Linked DNA regions of Homo sapiens: region 1 is linked to region 2. The links are contacts of gene promoters, found by promoter capture Hi-C in human tissues and cell types (Jung and others, 2019). All regions are on one chromosome and are shown on one strand. Each heading gives the region's core, a stretch centred on a gene start or on the middle of the fragment in contact. The rest is flanking DNA. Distances are from core to core; before and after follow the strand shown. Region 1 overlaps CRYL1 (crystallin lambda 1). Region 2 holds the start of GJA3 (gap junction protein alpha 3).

The links. Contacts are between HindIII fragments. The study calls those that stand out against the background at their distance.
Region 1: a fragment that was not itself captured here is called in contact with the fragment with the promoter of GJA3 in region 2 in 1 of the 25 tissues and cell types used here (IMR-90 fibroblasts).

The regions. Positions count from the first base shown.
Region 1 is chr13:20,417,983-20,425,157 of GRCh38, forward strand. The region is part of intron 5 of CRYL1 (crystallin lambda 1); the gene reads right to left. Among named protein-coding and RNA genes, the nearest start is that of MIR4499, 12 kb to the right of the region's middle. RefSeq lists enhancers at 1,045-2,244, 7,172-7,175. The HindIII fragment of the contact is 3,613 bases long and covers 645-4,257 here.
Region 2 is chr13:20,156,522-20,164,221 of GRCh38, forward strand. GJA3 (gap junction protein alpha 3) reads right to left here and starts at 4,531. Exons shown (of 2, transcript NM_021954.4): 1 at 4,369-4,531. RefSeq lists silencers at 4,262-4,351, 4,512-4,591, 4,822-5,181. The HindIII fragment of the contact is 27,118 bases long and covers 1-7,700 here.

The DNA.
Region 1 (7,175 bases), core at 1,201-3,700, 260 kb after region 2:
GGCCTGGCAAGTCAGAAAGCCATGGACAGGCCATCAGGAGGGCAGGCCGGCAACTCCAGGCAGGAACTACCCCACAGTCTGCAGGTGGAATTTCTCCTTCCTCAGGGAGATCTCAGTTCTGCTTGCAAGGCCTTTCAATGGACTGGATTTAGCCCACCCAGACTATGGAGAATAATCTCATTTACTTAAAGTCAACTATGTACCAAATACCTTCCCAGCAACATCTAGACTGAGTTTGACTGAGTGACTGGACGCTCTAGCCTGGCCGAGCTGACCCTCTCAGGGGACAGATACCCTCAGGGATCTTGGATCAAGCACTTCTGTTTGTTTGTGGGGTGGGGATGGGGAGAAGAGGAAGCAAGACACATCTAACAATTAACAATAGCAAAGGGTTAACAGATGCTGTGGTACTTACTCTGGTCCTTCGGACAGTCCCAGAAGAAGAGGAAGGCAGGAGAGAAACTTGTGTGGTGGAGGCACACGATATTTGATGGATAAATCCTCCTCCGTGACTATCTCCTCTACTGATCACCAGCTACACCGAACCATCTTTCCTTCTCTATAATCATCCCATTCCTAGATTTAATTTTCTGATTCATGTATTTTTTGCATGGCCTCATTTTCATTTGCTTTTCTCATTTTTCTTCATACCATTCTTCCTCATCCACTTCTTTTTTACTAATTCCCAGCTTTTGATCTTCTATTTTGTTTTGCTCTACTTTTCCCCCAAACTTGGTCCTGAATTTTCACATTTTTCTTGTGCAAACACTACAATAACTTTACTACTACTATCACCAGCAGGAACACAGACTTGCTACCCAGGAATTTGGATGAGGTTCTATTCAAGTTCTTCCACTCCTCAGCTAGAGTTTGGGCATAAGTCCACTGTCAACTGAGAAACAGGAGAAAAATTAAGAGTCAGGAGTCACAAAAGGTTTTATCTTAGGTGAGTGTCAAATAAAGAAACGCAACAGCGAGAAGTAGAGTACTCTGCCACCTTCAGCCCTACGAGGGCGACATGAAGAAAGCACTGGGCTTGTGTGGATCACCCCAGGGCAGCGGCCAAGAAGAAAGGATTACACCAGCACGTCCATCTCAATCTCTAGTGAAAGAAAGGATGGAACAAAGTTAAATCTCGGTGATTTTCTCATCTCCAGAGATGTTCAAGGACAGACCCAGACAAGAACAGTCACTTGCACAGAAGTAACTCGAGCATGAGCTAGGGTACTAGACTATCCCTCTGAGAAACATCCAGCCCTAGGGTCCTTGCAAATGCTACAGGGAGTAACAGAGTTAGAGATTAAGTTTATTATTATTATTATTATTTTGAAATGGAGTTTTGCTCTTGTTGTCCAGGCTGGAGTGCAATGGCAGGATCTCGGCTCACTGCAACCTCTGCCTCCCAGGTTCAAGCGATTCTCCTGCTTCGGCCTCCAAATAGCTGGGATTACAGGCATGCGTCACCACGCCCAGCTAATTTTGTATTTTTAGTAGAGACACAGTTTCTCCATGTTGGTCAGGCTGGTCTCAAACTCCTGACCTCAAGTGATCCACCCGCCTCAGCCTCCCAAAGTGCTGGGATTACAGGTGTGAGCCACCACATCTGGATAATTTTGTATTTTTAGTAGCGATGGGGTTTCTCCATGTTGGTCAGACTGGTCTCAAACTCCTGACCTCAAGTGATCCACCCAGAGTGCTGAGATTACAGGTGTGAGCCACCACATCCGGCCTAGATTAAGTTTATATTGAGAACTACCACAATGATTCATGAGTCTCTCATGAGAAACTAGTTGGAATTATGAGTTTGTTCCCTCCACTTATACATACTGTACCCACATGTTTTCGTTTTCTATACTCTTCACCACATGTTGCTTCCCCCACATGCAACAGGAAACTGGCTCCACGGCAAGGGTGAAAAAGATCTGACCCAGTGGTTCCCACCCACGCCACCTTCCAGGGAGAAGGTGAGGCCAAGATGAGACTTTAATAAGTCGAAAATAAAAGACTGCTAAGTGCTGCCCCACAATTACTCACAGGCTTGTGGTCAGGTTTGTGAGCTGCTTGGCCTGTTGCCGGCACTTACAAGCTTTCTTGGAAGCAAGACACAGACATTCCTGCGGAATGACTTGAGCAAATTTTGCTAACGCTACAAGGGTTGATTGAACACCACCACATTGAACTGATGCAAGAGGACACTGAATCACACCCATAAAACACCCGTCCTGTCAAGAGTCTTCCAAGAGGACGCGCAGGAGTCAGCGCTCCGGGGAAAGAAGATGAGAAACACCAGGTGGACCACCCTGGCCAGGCTGCTGGGAACAAGCCTACGTGCACAGCTGCCGGAGGAGAGGCGGGTCTCCCCTCTGGGAGGCATCTCAGCTACATCTATCAAGTTATAAAAATGTTACTCTCCCGCAGGCTGAGCCCACTCCCAGAATTATTCCAGAAAAGACTCCAGAAGAAGAAACCATATGTGCATAGAGGCTCACTGAGGCCTGACCTTAAAACATCCCGCAGTAAGGGAAAGATTGGATTTAAAAGAAAAAAAAAAAAGACCAGCTAAATGAAATATCATAAAGCCATTAAGAATGAATAAAAACTTGAGTAGCATGTTCATAATAGAGACTAGACAGGAACAAAGGAAAATGAAAGCAATTGACTTAGGGTAGAGCAAACACAGGTGGAGTTTTTCCCTTTGACTTTTCTTTAAAATAGAGGTTGTGTGTGTGTGTGTGTGTGTGTGTGTGTGTGTGTGTGTGTGTGTGTGTTTTGAGACAGAGTCTCACTCTGTCGCCCAGGCTGGAGTGCAGTGGCGTGATCGCAACTCACTGCGACCTCCGCCTCCTGGGTTCAAGCGATTCTCCTGCCTCAGCCTCCCAAATAGCTGGGACTACAGGCCCGCCACCACGCCTGGCTAATTTTTTGTATTTTTAGTAGAAACAGGATTTCATTGTGTTAGCCAGGATGGTCTCGATCTCCTGACCTCATGATCCGTCCGCCTTGGCCTCCCAAAATCCTGGGATTACAGGCGTGAGCCACTGCGCCCAGCCTAAAATAGAGCTTTTAAATAGAAACAAACAAACAAAAAAAAAAATGGAAAGGAAAGAGAGGAAAGACTTTGCCCTAATAAAAGGGACATTCCAGAGTACTTCAGGCCCCAGTGCTAATTCCCTGGTGCACTTTTTCTTAGAACACTGTGTGTATAATGATGCTTTTAGGGGGAAAAACAACAGTATTATAGAGTTTGAAAGAAAGGGAAAGCCTCGACTTTTACAACAAATACAACAGCAAAAAGAATCCATCATTGTGTATGAATGTGAATACATTCACTTCCATTCTATGAGGGTAGTGATACTTTAATTGAGGGGTCCTCTGGGAATACAGTTTACTACAATAAGTTTTGAACCAAAGAGTGTAAGCCCTGACTCCAAAAACAGCCATGGAGCACAAGCCCCATATCTGCCTACTCCCCACATCTTTACCCAGAGATGCTTCCTGCCTTGATGGCCCATAGGGCTCCAGTGGCCTCTCACCTGGCTTCTACCTGCAGCTGATGGAAGGCACAAAGGCTGGCTCCCACAAGGGAAGAGGGATGCAGTGTCATTTGTCACCTCCCACCTCTCTTCTCTTTGCCTTTTCTCTTGGGGGCTCCTTACCCCCATCCTCTACTTCTGGGGACCCTTACCCCTGGCCTGTTAACTTCCCAACTTCAAACTGAGGGAGCTGAAATCCATCATTTATATTCACTGCTCAAGCACCTATTGGTAATGATTGCTAGAAGGTGTTATAGTAACAGCATTTTCATTTATTTATTTATTTATTTATTTATTTTTAGAGTTAGAATACTAACATAGAAGCTTTGCAGCATTTTGGGGATTTTTAATGAGTATGTGGTTGATGTTATTTATTTGCTTATTAATGGGGATACAGGTATCTCTAAATTCATAAATCAGCAGTATCTCTCTTTTCAATAGGGTTTTGTTGCTCACCAATATGACTACTCAGAAAATGGCCACCCACAAAATAATAAATAATGGTATAAAAATAGTCTACTTCTTATGGAAAATTGCTGCTAGAAAAAAAATCCTAATTAAGGCCAGGCGCGGTGGCTCACACCTGTAATCCTAGCACTTTGGGAGGCCAAGGCAGGCCGATCATTTGAGGTCAGGAGTTCAAGACCAGCTTGGCCAACATGGAGAAACCCCATCTCTACTAAAAATACAAAAAATTAGCCAGGCATGGTGGCATGCGCCTGTAGTCCCACCCACTTGGGAGGCTGAGGCAGGAGAAGCCTTTGAACCTGGGAGATGGAGATTGCCATGAGCCGAGATCACGCCATTGCACTCCAACCTGGGCCACAGAGTGAAATTCCATTTCCAAAAAAAAAAAAAAAAGTCCTAATTAACTAATGATTCCAACACAGCAAATAAAAGTTTGCAGATAGAATTCCAGTTGCTGTGGCAGTTGACATTATCCCTGCGAACATCTGCACTACTCTAGAGAGAAATCATTACAAGGTACAAACGTGCTCCCTTGCACCTCCAGCCAGGCTGGGGTCGCCCAGCAAGTGTAAGCAAACCTGTGGGAAAGCTGAGCTGGACTTGGCTCTGCACACGGGTGGCATGCAGCTTCTGACTCTAACATAGAGGAGGAGAAAGCTTTACAAATATGCTTAGATGCCATTTCTCTGCCAAAGCCACCAGCCTTTCTGGAAAAGTCTTGCACTCCTGCTCTCCTTTTGGAAGAGCCCCACATTCCAACAGTTTGTCATGTGCATCCTAACCCATCTCGAGTGGTATCTACAGTCTTTCCAAACAAAGGGCCACGCTACTCTGTGAAAAATGCCACTGGAAGTTTGATAGGGATTGCACTGAATCTGTAGATCACCTTGGGCAGTATGGACATTTTAACAATATTAATCATTCCAATCCATGAACACAGAATGTCCTTCCATTTATTTGTGTCTTCTTCAGTTTTTTCATCAGTGTAATTATAGTTGTCAGTGTACAGATATTTCACTTTCTTGATTAAATGTATTTCTAAGCATTTTGGGGGCAGCTATTGTAAATGGAATTGTTTTCTTGATTTCTTTTTCACGTAGTTCCTTGTTAGTGTATAGAAATGCTACCGACCTTTGTATGTTGACTTTGTATCCTGCAACTTTACTGAATTTATTTATCAGTTCCAACAGAATTTTAGGGTTTTCTATATATGAGATCATGTTGCCAGCAAACAGTGACAATTTAACTTCATTTCCAATTTGAATACCTTTTATTTCTTTCTCTTGCCTAATTGCTATGGCTAGGACTTCCATACTACGTTGGATAGAAGTGGTGAGAGTAGGCACCCTTGTCTTGTTCCTAATCTTAGAAGAAAAGCCTTCAACTTTTCACCATTGAGTATATTTGCTGTGGGTGTGTCACGTATGACCTTTATCGTGTTGAGGAACACTTCTTCTATATCTAATTTGAAGAGAGTTTTATTATAAAATGATGCTGAATGTTGTCGTGTGCTTTTTCTGCATCTGTTGAGATGATCATATGGTTGTCCTGTATTCTGTTAACATGACATATCACATTTATAGATTTGCCTATGGTAAAGTATCTCTGCACCCTGTGATGAATTCCCCTTGATTATGTTATTAAATATAGGATCATTTTAATGTGCTATTGAATCCAGTTTGCTAGTGTTTTGTTGAGGAAGGCCAGACTCTACTCTCTATTTGACTGGAGGCTCTCTCGGTGGACACTGAGTACTCACTGATTCATGGGTGTGGGGGTGTGGGTTCTTTTTTTTTTTTTTTTTTGAGACAGAGTCTTGCTCTGTCACCCAGGCTGGAGTGCAGTGGTGTGATCTTGGCTCACTGCAACCTCTGTCTCCCAGGTTCAAGTGATTCTCCTGCCTCAGCCTCCCAAGTAGCTGGGACTACAGGTGCACAGCACCACACCTGGCTAATTTCTGTATTTTTAATAGAGACGGGGTTTCACCTTGTTGGCCAGACTGGTCTCGAACTCCTGACCTCGTGATTCCCCTGCCTTGGATTCCGAAAGTGCTGGGATTACAGGTGTGAGCCACCACGCCCGGCCGGGAATGGGCTCTGATATAGTTCTAGGGCTCCTCAAAATAATCTTTCAGTACTTCCCTGTAGATGAAAAATATCACCTCTCTCATTGCTTCTGGCAGAAGATCATTCTTACAGAGCTCTCTGCATTTGAAGCCAACAAAAACACAGGTCTCAATTAACCAGGAGGCTGGTCCTAGCAACGTGGGTGATGTATCCGCTCTAACGACCCTGCAGTCCCAACAGAGGTGCTGCTGAGTGGCTGGACTGAGAAGCAGCATGTGGACTCTGTTGGAAAGGAGCTGAGGAAGAGGACAGGCACAGTGGAGCTAGGATGGTCTTCAGCAAACCTCCCAGGGACTAGGAGCTGGAATAGTCAGAGCCAAGAGAGCTCTCCAGTACCCTCTGGTAAGGCACTTACTCCCACAGACACACTGACCACCCAGACTTCAGAAGGCGCAGAAGACAGAGGCCAGCTGAGCGAAGGGACAATGGCCCAGGCCATGTGAGAGAGGAAAGAAAGGCACAGCATCCTGGGGTGCCCGAGGGATCAGCTCTAAGCGGCACCTGGGGCTTTGGACAGATGCTGTCAGAGGAGACAGAGACTGAACCGGTCACAGAAGAAGCCTGGTAGGAGAAGCAGGGGAAAGATTCCCCCAACCCCCTGCAGAGCCCGCACAGGCCTAGCCCAGGGCAAAGCCGGCAGAGGGAGAACACATCCTTTCTGGGGTGATGTGAGCCTCAGAGCAACAGGAAGAAAAGGCAGCGCTGAGATACACGGAGCTCTGGAAGCCCCATCAGCGATTCACTCAGATGCTTCAAATGTTGTGTCTTAAAAAAAAATCCTAAACTCTTAGGGTTCAGTTTTCAAGTAGGTAAGATGTAGAACCCCTCCAGCTGAGGCATGGTGCGGAGGCCAGACTTGGCTGTTTCCTGGCTCCCCCAACTTCCCTACACACTGGGCCCATCGCTCTATGTGACTTCGTGCCAAGACCACACAGATGTTGCCAATGTCTGCGCTGTGCTATTTTACTCAAGCCTCAACATTTTCCCCCGGACACATTCCAGGTGCACCACAGTCTGAAGCAAACCACAGCAATTCACTTCCAACGCC
Region 2 (7,700 bases), core at 3,281-5,780:
GGCTGGTCTTGAACTCCTGACCTCAGGTGATCTGTGCACCCTGGCCTCCCAAAGTGTTGGGATCATAGGCATGAGCCACCAAGCCTGGCCATAGTGAGAGCTAATTTTAAACTGGAAGTAATTAAAACAGCTGTGTTAATTTAAAAAATTGTCTTCAATATTTTATACTCGAGAATGGCAAAATTTAAAATATACTATTTATCTACAGTCTTTCTTCTTGAAATACTTGAATAAATATTCCCTCTAGAAATCAGCACTAAAGCACCATTTCCACAGGGAGTTCTAACATTAAGCTAGAAAATTAACAGCTGGTTTAGTTTCAATTCAATTGACAGGAAAATGTAAAGAGTTGCAGCGTAATTAGAAACAACTGCCTGCCAAGACGCCCCACTGGGGTTCCTTTCAACCCTCCAGAGACCTCCCAGCTCCATCTCCCAGTGGAGCCCTCTGGTTTCTTCTGCCAATTATTAAAGGGCATTGTAAGTTTTAATAACTTCTGTGAACCACTTAAGAATTCCACTGAAATTATTTACTTATCCAAACATTTATTCAGACATTTTAGTGATGTGTTAATGTATTTCCTTCAATGTTTTAGTCCTCAAAGTTTTAAAAATTGAATAATGAAAAAAAGTGACTTCCTTAAGGTAAAATTGAACTTAGCAGTACCCCACTTTCTGAGGGGTGGCTTGGGGCAAGGGTAAGTAATAGAGAAAATTACAGGGGTGCTTCAGCATAGCAGCGATCAGAACAGGCTTTTGTCATGTCTAAAACACAAGTCATGATGTCTGAACAGATGACCAAACACTGACCTCATAAACACAGTGCAGTCAGTTAAAAGGCAATTTCCTCATATAAATCCAAATGACATCCTTCAGGAACCTTACTCATTATCGACAGAAGAAATATGGAATCTTAGCATTTTGGCAAGGGATGAACCTTAGAAGTGGTCTAGTTTATGCTCCTTATTTTACAAACTGGGAAATGGCAGCTCAGAGAGGGTCCTGAGACTTGCCTAAAGTTGCACAGCCCACAGTGCTGACACCAGCACAGAAGTGCCCAACCTCCAACTCCTGGCCCAACTTCCCTTCCCCTCCCACACCACTTCATGGGCGATGCAGCAGGCAGACTGTTCAGCTTATGACACTATGTATTACATGCCTTTTGCATTTTATTATATTCTAACATACTGGAATACATATGTTTAGAAATGTGGGCTGGAGTACATGTTAAGCTTTCACTTTTTTTTTCCAGTCCAGACTGTCTCAAGGGGGGTATTTTTATCTTTTATAAAAATGGTTAAATATTACTGATATGCTAAGGACAGCCCAATTACTTCATCACAAATTTGAATTATCTTTTTTTTTTTTTCTGTCACACTTATGGCTTACTGCAGCCTCAATCTCTTGGGCTCAAATGATCCTCCTGCCTCAGCCTCCTGAGTAGCTGGGACTATAGGTTTGTACCACCACACTGGGCTAATTTTATAAAAAATATTTTGAAGTGACTGTATCTCACTATATTGCCTGGGCTGGTCTCAAACTCCTGGGCTCAAGAGATCCTCCTGCCTCAGCCTCCCAAAAAGTGCTGGGATTACATGCATGAGCCACCACACCCAGTCAGAATTATCTTTTTAAAGTAAATTCAGATATTTTTACTCTTGCTTAGTGAACAAAATCCCACAACCTGATAATTATGGTATTTTATTATTCCACTGATATTACTGATAAAAATTACATCTGTCAAAATATTTTCTATTTTTTTGCAGAAATAATTTCTATAGTATTAGTATGATTTCACTTTTCTTACTCAAATCTACTTCTATTGCTGTGTAACCAGAAATTGCTTCTATGTTCTAGAATAAAAGATTTATTTTAAAATCAACAGGAAATGGAGTTTCAGGAATAAATAAGCAATAATCCATGGAGATAATCAGGAGGTCTAAATGTAAAAAGCTAATTAATTTTTATATCTAGTATCATTAGTTTGTTAACAGTAAATTTAAAGCAAACCAATTCTTCAAATTAAATAAGACACATAAGAGTGTGGAAACTATTCACATCAACCATTACTTTTGGAGATGTACAGGAGTTTTAAAAAAGCAAGCAGTAGGCTGGGCGCGGTGGCTCACGCCTGTAATTCCAGCACTTTGGGAGGCTGAGGTGGGTGGATCACCTGAGGTCAGGAGTTTGAGACCAGCCTGTCCAACATGGTGAAACTGTGTCTCTACTAAAAATACAAAAATTAGCCAGGCGTGGTGGCGCATGCCTGTAATCCCAGCTACAAGGGAGGCTGAGGCAGGAGAATCGCTTTAACTGGGAGGCAGAAGTCGCAATGAGCCAAGACTGTGCCACTGTGCCATTGCACTCCAGCCTGGACAAGAGCAAAACTCTCAAAAAAAAAAAAAAAAAAAAAAAAGAAAAAGAAAAAGAAAAAAAGCAAGCAGTAGAGTACTAACCTAGTTATCATGAGGAATTTTCCACCACTGTAGGAATGAAAATTAAGATGAAACTTTATTATTTTTATTGCCTTTAAGCATTATACAGAAATTGCAGAAACATACTGTTTTTTAGAGACATATATGCTGTTGTCACATATATTGGATTTTTTCCCTCCTCAATTCAGTAAACATTTATTATTATTATAAAACATTATTACCTATTGTGTGTGGCACTGTGCCACACACTGAGGACAGCAAAACAATTAAGATCCAGTCCTCACTCTCAGGAGATTCATTTGCAATCTATGAGAGAGGCAGAGTGGCAAAAAACAGATCAAAATGTAAGTACTACATAGTACTGGGAATAGCTACCATCCAGCGGAGGGAGGAAGAAGGCATGGTGGTAGACGCCTGTAGTCCCAGCTACTCGGGAGGTTGCAGTGAGCCGAGATCGCACCACTGCACTCCAGCCTGGGTGACAGAGCGAGACTCCATCTCAAAAAAAAAAAAAAAAAAAAAAAAAAAAAAGGCTGCGATAAACGTAATTTTTCGTTTCAAATGTAGTGTGTACACGTTATTTTAGCTAAGAGAAATGAATATAATAAGTTAAAATGTGAGTAACATTCAAGAAAACTGGGTCAAAAATATTTTCCTTATTGGCAAAAAATTTTGTTACCCGCCATTCTTTTAAGACAGCTTTCAGCCAGTTAACGGTTCCTGGTTAAGAAACAGTACTGTCTGATTTGTTAGAGTAGTACCGTTTCGTGAATTACTTTCCACTACAGCAACACATGCATTGCCCTTATGAGATGCTTATCTCGATATGAACCAAACTGCTGAGCAGGTGGAATCTGTGCCAAACTAGCTGATGTTTACTTTGAACACACTGATATTCGGAAAATAAATCCCTCTTTTTTCCTCTTTAATCTTTTAATGTTTGTCTTGCACATGGATGGACCGCCAGTGAAGTGATGCGCACATCATAAATCACCATGGTTTTTAATTCCTGGGTGATGAGACCCATAATTCGCTTGTCAGCTGTTTGTATAGAATCATTTTTAAATGGCATGTTTTGGAGACATCTTGATAAAATAAAAACTGGAGTTCTAAAGTTGCAGTCACATATTCACGAACCGAGAACTCTACATGGTAGGATGAATTTTGCTCACTAGTGTGGAGTCGGCAACAAAGCAAATGCAGCCGCGTCACTGCCGTTTGTTTTCTCAAGTCTCCTACGGGAAGGGGCTCGGACAGTGCTTTTCCACTCCTCTGCAAATTCCTTATAGTTGAACACATCATAACAAACATACAGGTCGAGAAATCTGGTCGTGGCATTAATAGCTACAGTGTTTCTTAAAAATAAAAAGTTTTAAAAAGTTTCTGAAAAAAATGTAGGCGAGCCAACCTTGTTTCTAAACAATCCCAACAGGACTTTTAGGAGCACGGCGATGCTGAATGCCCGTGGACGGCTGGGTGCGCGCCGTTAGCTGGCGCGGTGACATCTGCTTAGAGTTTTCAAGCATTTCAGCATCGCTAGGAGCCCTACAGCCTGACGGTCCGGGACAGCCCGGCTTCCTCCACCCGAGGGGGAAAACAACCCCAGGAAAACAACTTAAACTCGGCCTTGGACTGTCCATCAAGGGAAGCCAAACGAGGCGCTGCTCTCCAGACCTCCAGGAGCAAAGGAGGAAGATCAATTATTCCAAAAGTTTCTCACAAATTTCCCGAGCTCCCCACAACTTTTTGAAGAATCCTGAAAGAATCCTAGGGGGCTGGGAGCCGCACACGTGCCGGGGCTCGGCTTCCCAGCTCGGCAGTCTCAGCCCGCTGGGCTCGCCCGGCAGCTCCGCTGCGCCGCCGACCCGCCCGTCCCCGCCCCGCGCTGCCCTCGGCCCCTGTGCCTGGCCTCCGGGGCGCCCGGCCCGCCTTACCCCGCTCTGCCGCGGCGGCGACCCGGGTGCGTTCCTCCGGAGCAGGGCTCCCGGCCGCTCTGAAAAGAATTCCTTTCACACGTGCGGTGCTGCTTCACGCGTGCGCCCCGCGCCAGGGCCCGACCTCCCCGCCCTGATCGCCATCCCTGCAGCCCCAGTGTGCGCTGCGCCCGACGCCCCCAAGCTGCAGCTCAGGACGCCGCGCCACGCCCCCGCCGCCTCCGAACAGCCCCGCCCCGCGCGCTTCCCAGCACGCACACCTACCGCCCCCGCATCCCTACCCTGTACGCGCAGCCACAGCACTCGCCCGCGTCCGCATTCCACACCCTACCCCGCGCGCACGTCCATGCCTAGCGCCTGCATCCCCATCCCGCACCTGCGCGGGCCCTGGGGATGTGGACGCGGGGGCTCTTCCCTGCCGCCTACGCACTCCGGGGCATGCCCGCGCGGGACGTGAGAGGAGAGCCGAGGGCTGTTGGGGCGGGCCCGACCCGCTTGCGGGGCGCCCACCGCACGCAGATGCGCCAGCCCGCGCCCCGCTCGCGCCTGTCCTGGGCTTCGCAGGCCCGGCGAGGTAGCTGCTCTCCGGGCGCTCCCACGGTCGGAGGCGCGTGGGCGTCGGGCACCTAGGTCTCGCCCGCCTGCAGCCGCCTGGGGACGCGGGTTCCGGACGGCTGGCGCGGGGCGGGGCGGGGACCACCGAGCAGGAAGTCCCCGCGGAAGCGCCGCCGGGCACAGCGTGGGTGCTGTCGAGGAGTGGCGCCCGGGCGGGGCGGGAGGTTATAAATAGCGGCCGCCATCCTGCTTCTCTTCAGACACACTTAATTTAGCCGGCAGGCACACGGATGCTTATTTTTAAAAAAAGAACTTGTTTTATTGCGCTCGAGGTGACCGGGAAGGTGTCCCCGCGGGTCACTCGCTCCATCTGGTCCTGGAGACGAGATGCCAGGGCGAGGCCTAACCTGCCTGCTGGCGCCCAACGAAGATTTTAACGTTTTCTGTTCCCTTCGGGGTGGTTTTACCACGCTTGAGAGGGACGCCTACCGCGGAAGGCCGCGGACCGAGGGCGGCATCGCGTCCTTGTCTGCTGTCTGGGCACAGCCTAGAGAGGCCGCGGGTCCCCTCCCCGTCCCCCAAGGTCTGGAGTGGGGTTTGACCAGCCTGGGATATTAACAAATATCGGTGGACTGCATTTCGGTGATCATTCCACAAGCTGAAATGGCTTCAAAATCACCTTTATGAGTAATAAGTTTATTCCAGGAATGTGGCAAAATGCAAGTCTGATAGTTTTCGTGTCTTCATGGAGCAGCTTCCGTCGGCTGCCTTCGTTAGCGTTTAGATCTACTCGGATTAGCAGTTGGCTTGCCCTGAAAAATGCGTTTGTTCTGCTGAGATCTGAATTTAAAGTTATCCCAAGGAGGAAAAACTAAGCTCCTAAAGGCGCATCTAAAATATCTTCTCCCTTTGGGAACTTTGCGGTGTATGTATGGAGTAGGTAGTAGTTACGGAGACTTAGTTTTTAATTTTTAATTGAAAAATGCTACCTTTGAAGGTCTTAAAATACTTGAATATTTTTCTCATTTAAAACATTTTCTCTGAGAAGCACAGGAATAGTTTTTTTTTTTTTGTTGATCACAAAAGCACTAGGAATTGTTAATATTTGTAGTCTGTTTGCCAAATGCTATTATTGGTATTCTGAGGATAAAAATGGAAATATAATATTGTAATAATTTTAAAATTTTTATTAAAATATAGATTTTAAATTATATTATGTAATTCGAACAAATATTTTACATATATGTTCATACAAGCATTATTTACTATAGCCAAAAGGTGTCCATCAATGGATGAATGGATAAACAAAATGTATTGCATACCTACAGTGGAATATTATTCAGCCTTAAAAAGGGAGAGCCCCATCACATGCTACAACGTGGACGAACCTTGAGTACATTATGCTAAATGAAATAAGCCAGTCACAAAAGTCACAAATACTGTATGATTCCATTTACATGAGGTACCTACAGCAGTCAAAATCATAGAGACGGAAAGTAGAAGTGTGGTTACCAGCAGCTGGGGCAGTGGGAAACGGGAAGATAGAGTTTCATAGGTACGGAGTTTTAGTTTGGGAAGATAGAAATAGTTTTGGAAGCAGATGATGGTAATGGTTGCATAACAATGTGAATGTACTTAATGCCACAGAACTGTACACATTAAGAAAGGTTAAATGGTAAATTAAAGGTTATGTATATTTTACTACCATAAAACAATTTTTAAAGTGGTATTGTGTAAAGACCAGCACAACTAAGAAGCTAGCAGTTTCTTTACACTTGTCATACTGTACAATTTCTAGGTAGACAACTAAGATGTTCATCTTATGGTTTAATGTTTAGTTGTAAAGGTTGTTTGCTTCTCATTTGGTTCCAAGAAAGAGTATTTAGGCCAATTTCAGGGAGAAATATGTGTATAGATATATTCATATGTCAAACTGATTAGTGCTGAATGTCACATTTCCATATTCTAATAACATTTCTAGCAAAGAAGAGGACACAGTGAAGAGAGAATTGCCCGCATTGTCATTGTCTCTTTCTGAGCCTAGAACGCCTAACACTTGGGTGTGGAGAGACTCAGCCTCAATTCACTTTCTAGCAGCCACTGAGATGTGCTTGCCTGGGGTGCCCCCTGGCAGGCAGGGCTGGAACTGCTTTCCAGTACCCACACGGACTGTGAACGAATCTTTCTTTGTGCTTTGTGTACAGAATGGAAGTTCAACAAATATTTGTTGAATGTGTATGTCCTTCCAATACGCAGCAGCCCAGAGCAAACGTGGTAATCTTGTGTGTGTTCATGTGAAAGCAGAATTTAATGGTGCTTTTAAGCACCAAAGTTTAAGATGCACGAGAAAACTGTATCTCCATTTTTTCCTTTTCGTTTACAATTACTTGTATAAGCCAGGCACGGTGGTGGCTCACGCCTGTAATCCCAGCACTTTGGGAGGCCGAGGCGGGCGGATCACATGAGGTCGGGAGCTTGATACCAGCCTGGCCAACGTGGTGAAACCCCGTTGCTACTAAAAATACAAAAATTAGCCGTGTGTGGCGGCACCTGCCTGTAATCCCAACTACTCAGGAGGCTGAGGCAGGAGAATCACTTGAACCGGGGAAGCGGAGGTTGCAGTGAGCTGAGACTGCACCACTGTACTCCAGCCTGGGTGACAGAGCAAGACTCCATCTCAAAACAAAAACAAAAAAACAAAAACAAAATTACTTGTATAGACCGTCACTATTCCTTACTTACTATGCTGATTGACAATGTATAGTATTTCAGTTACT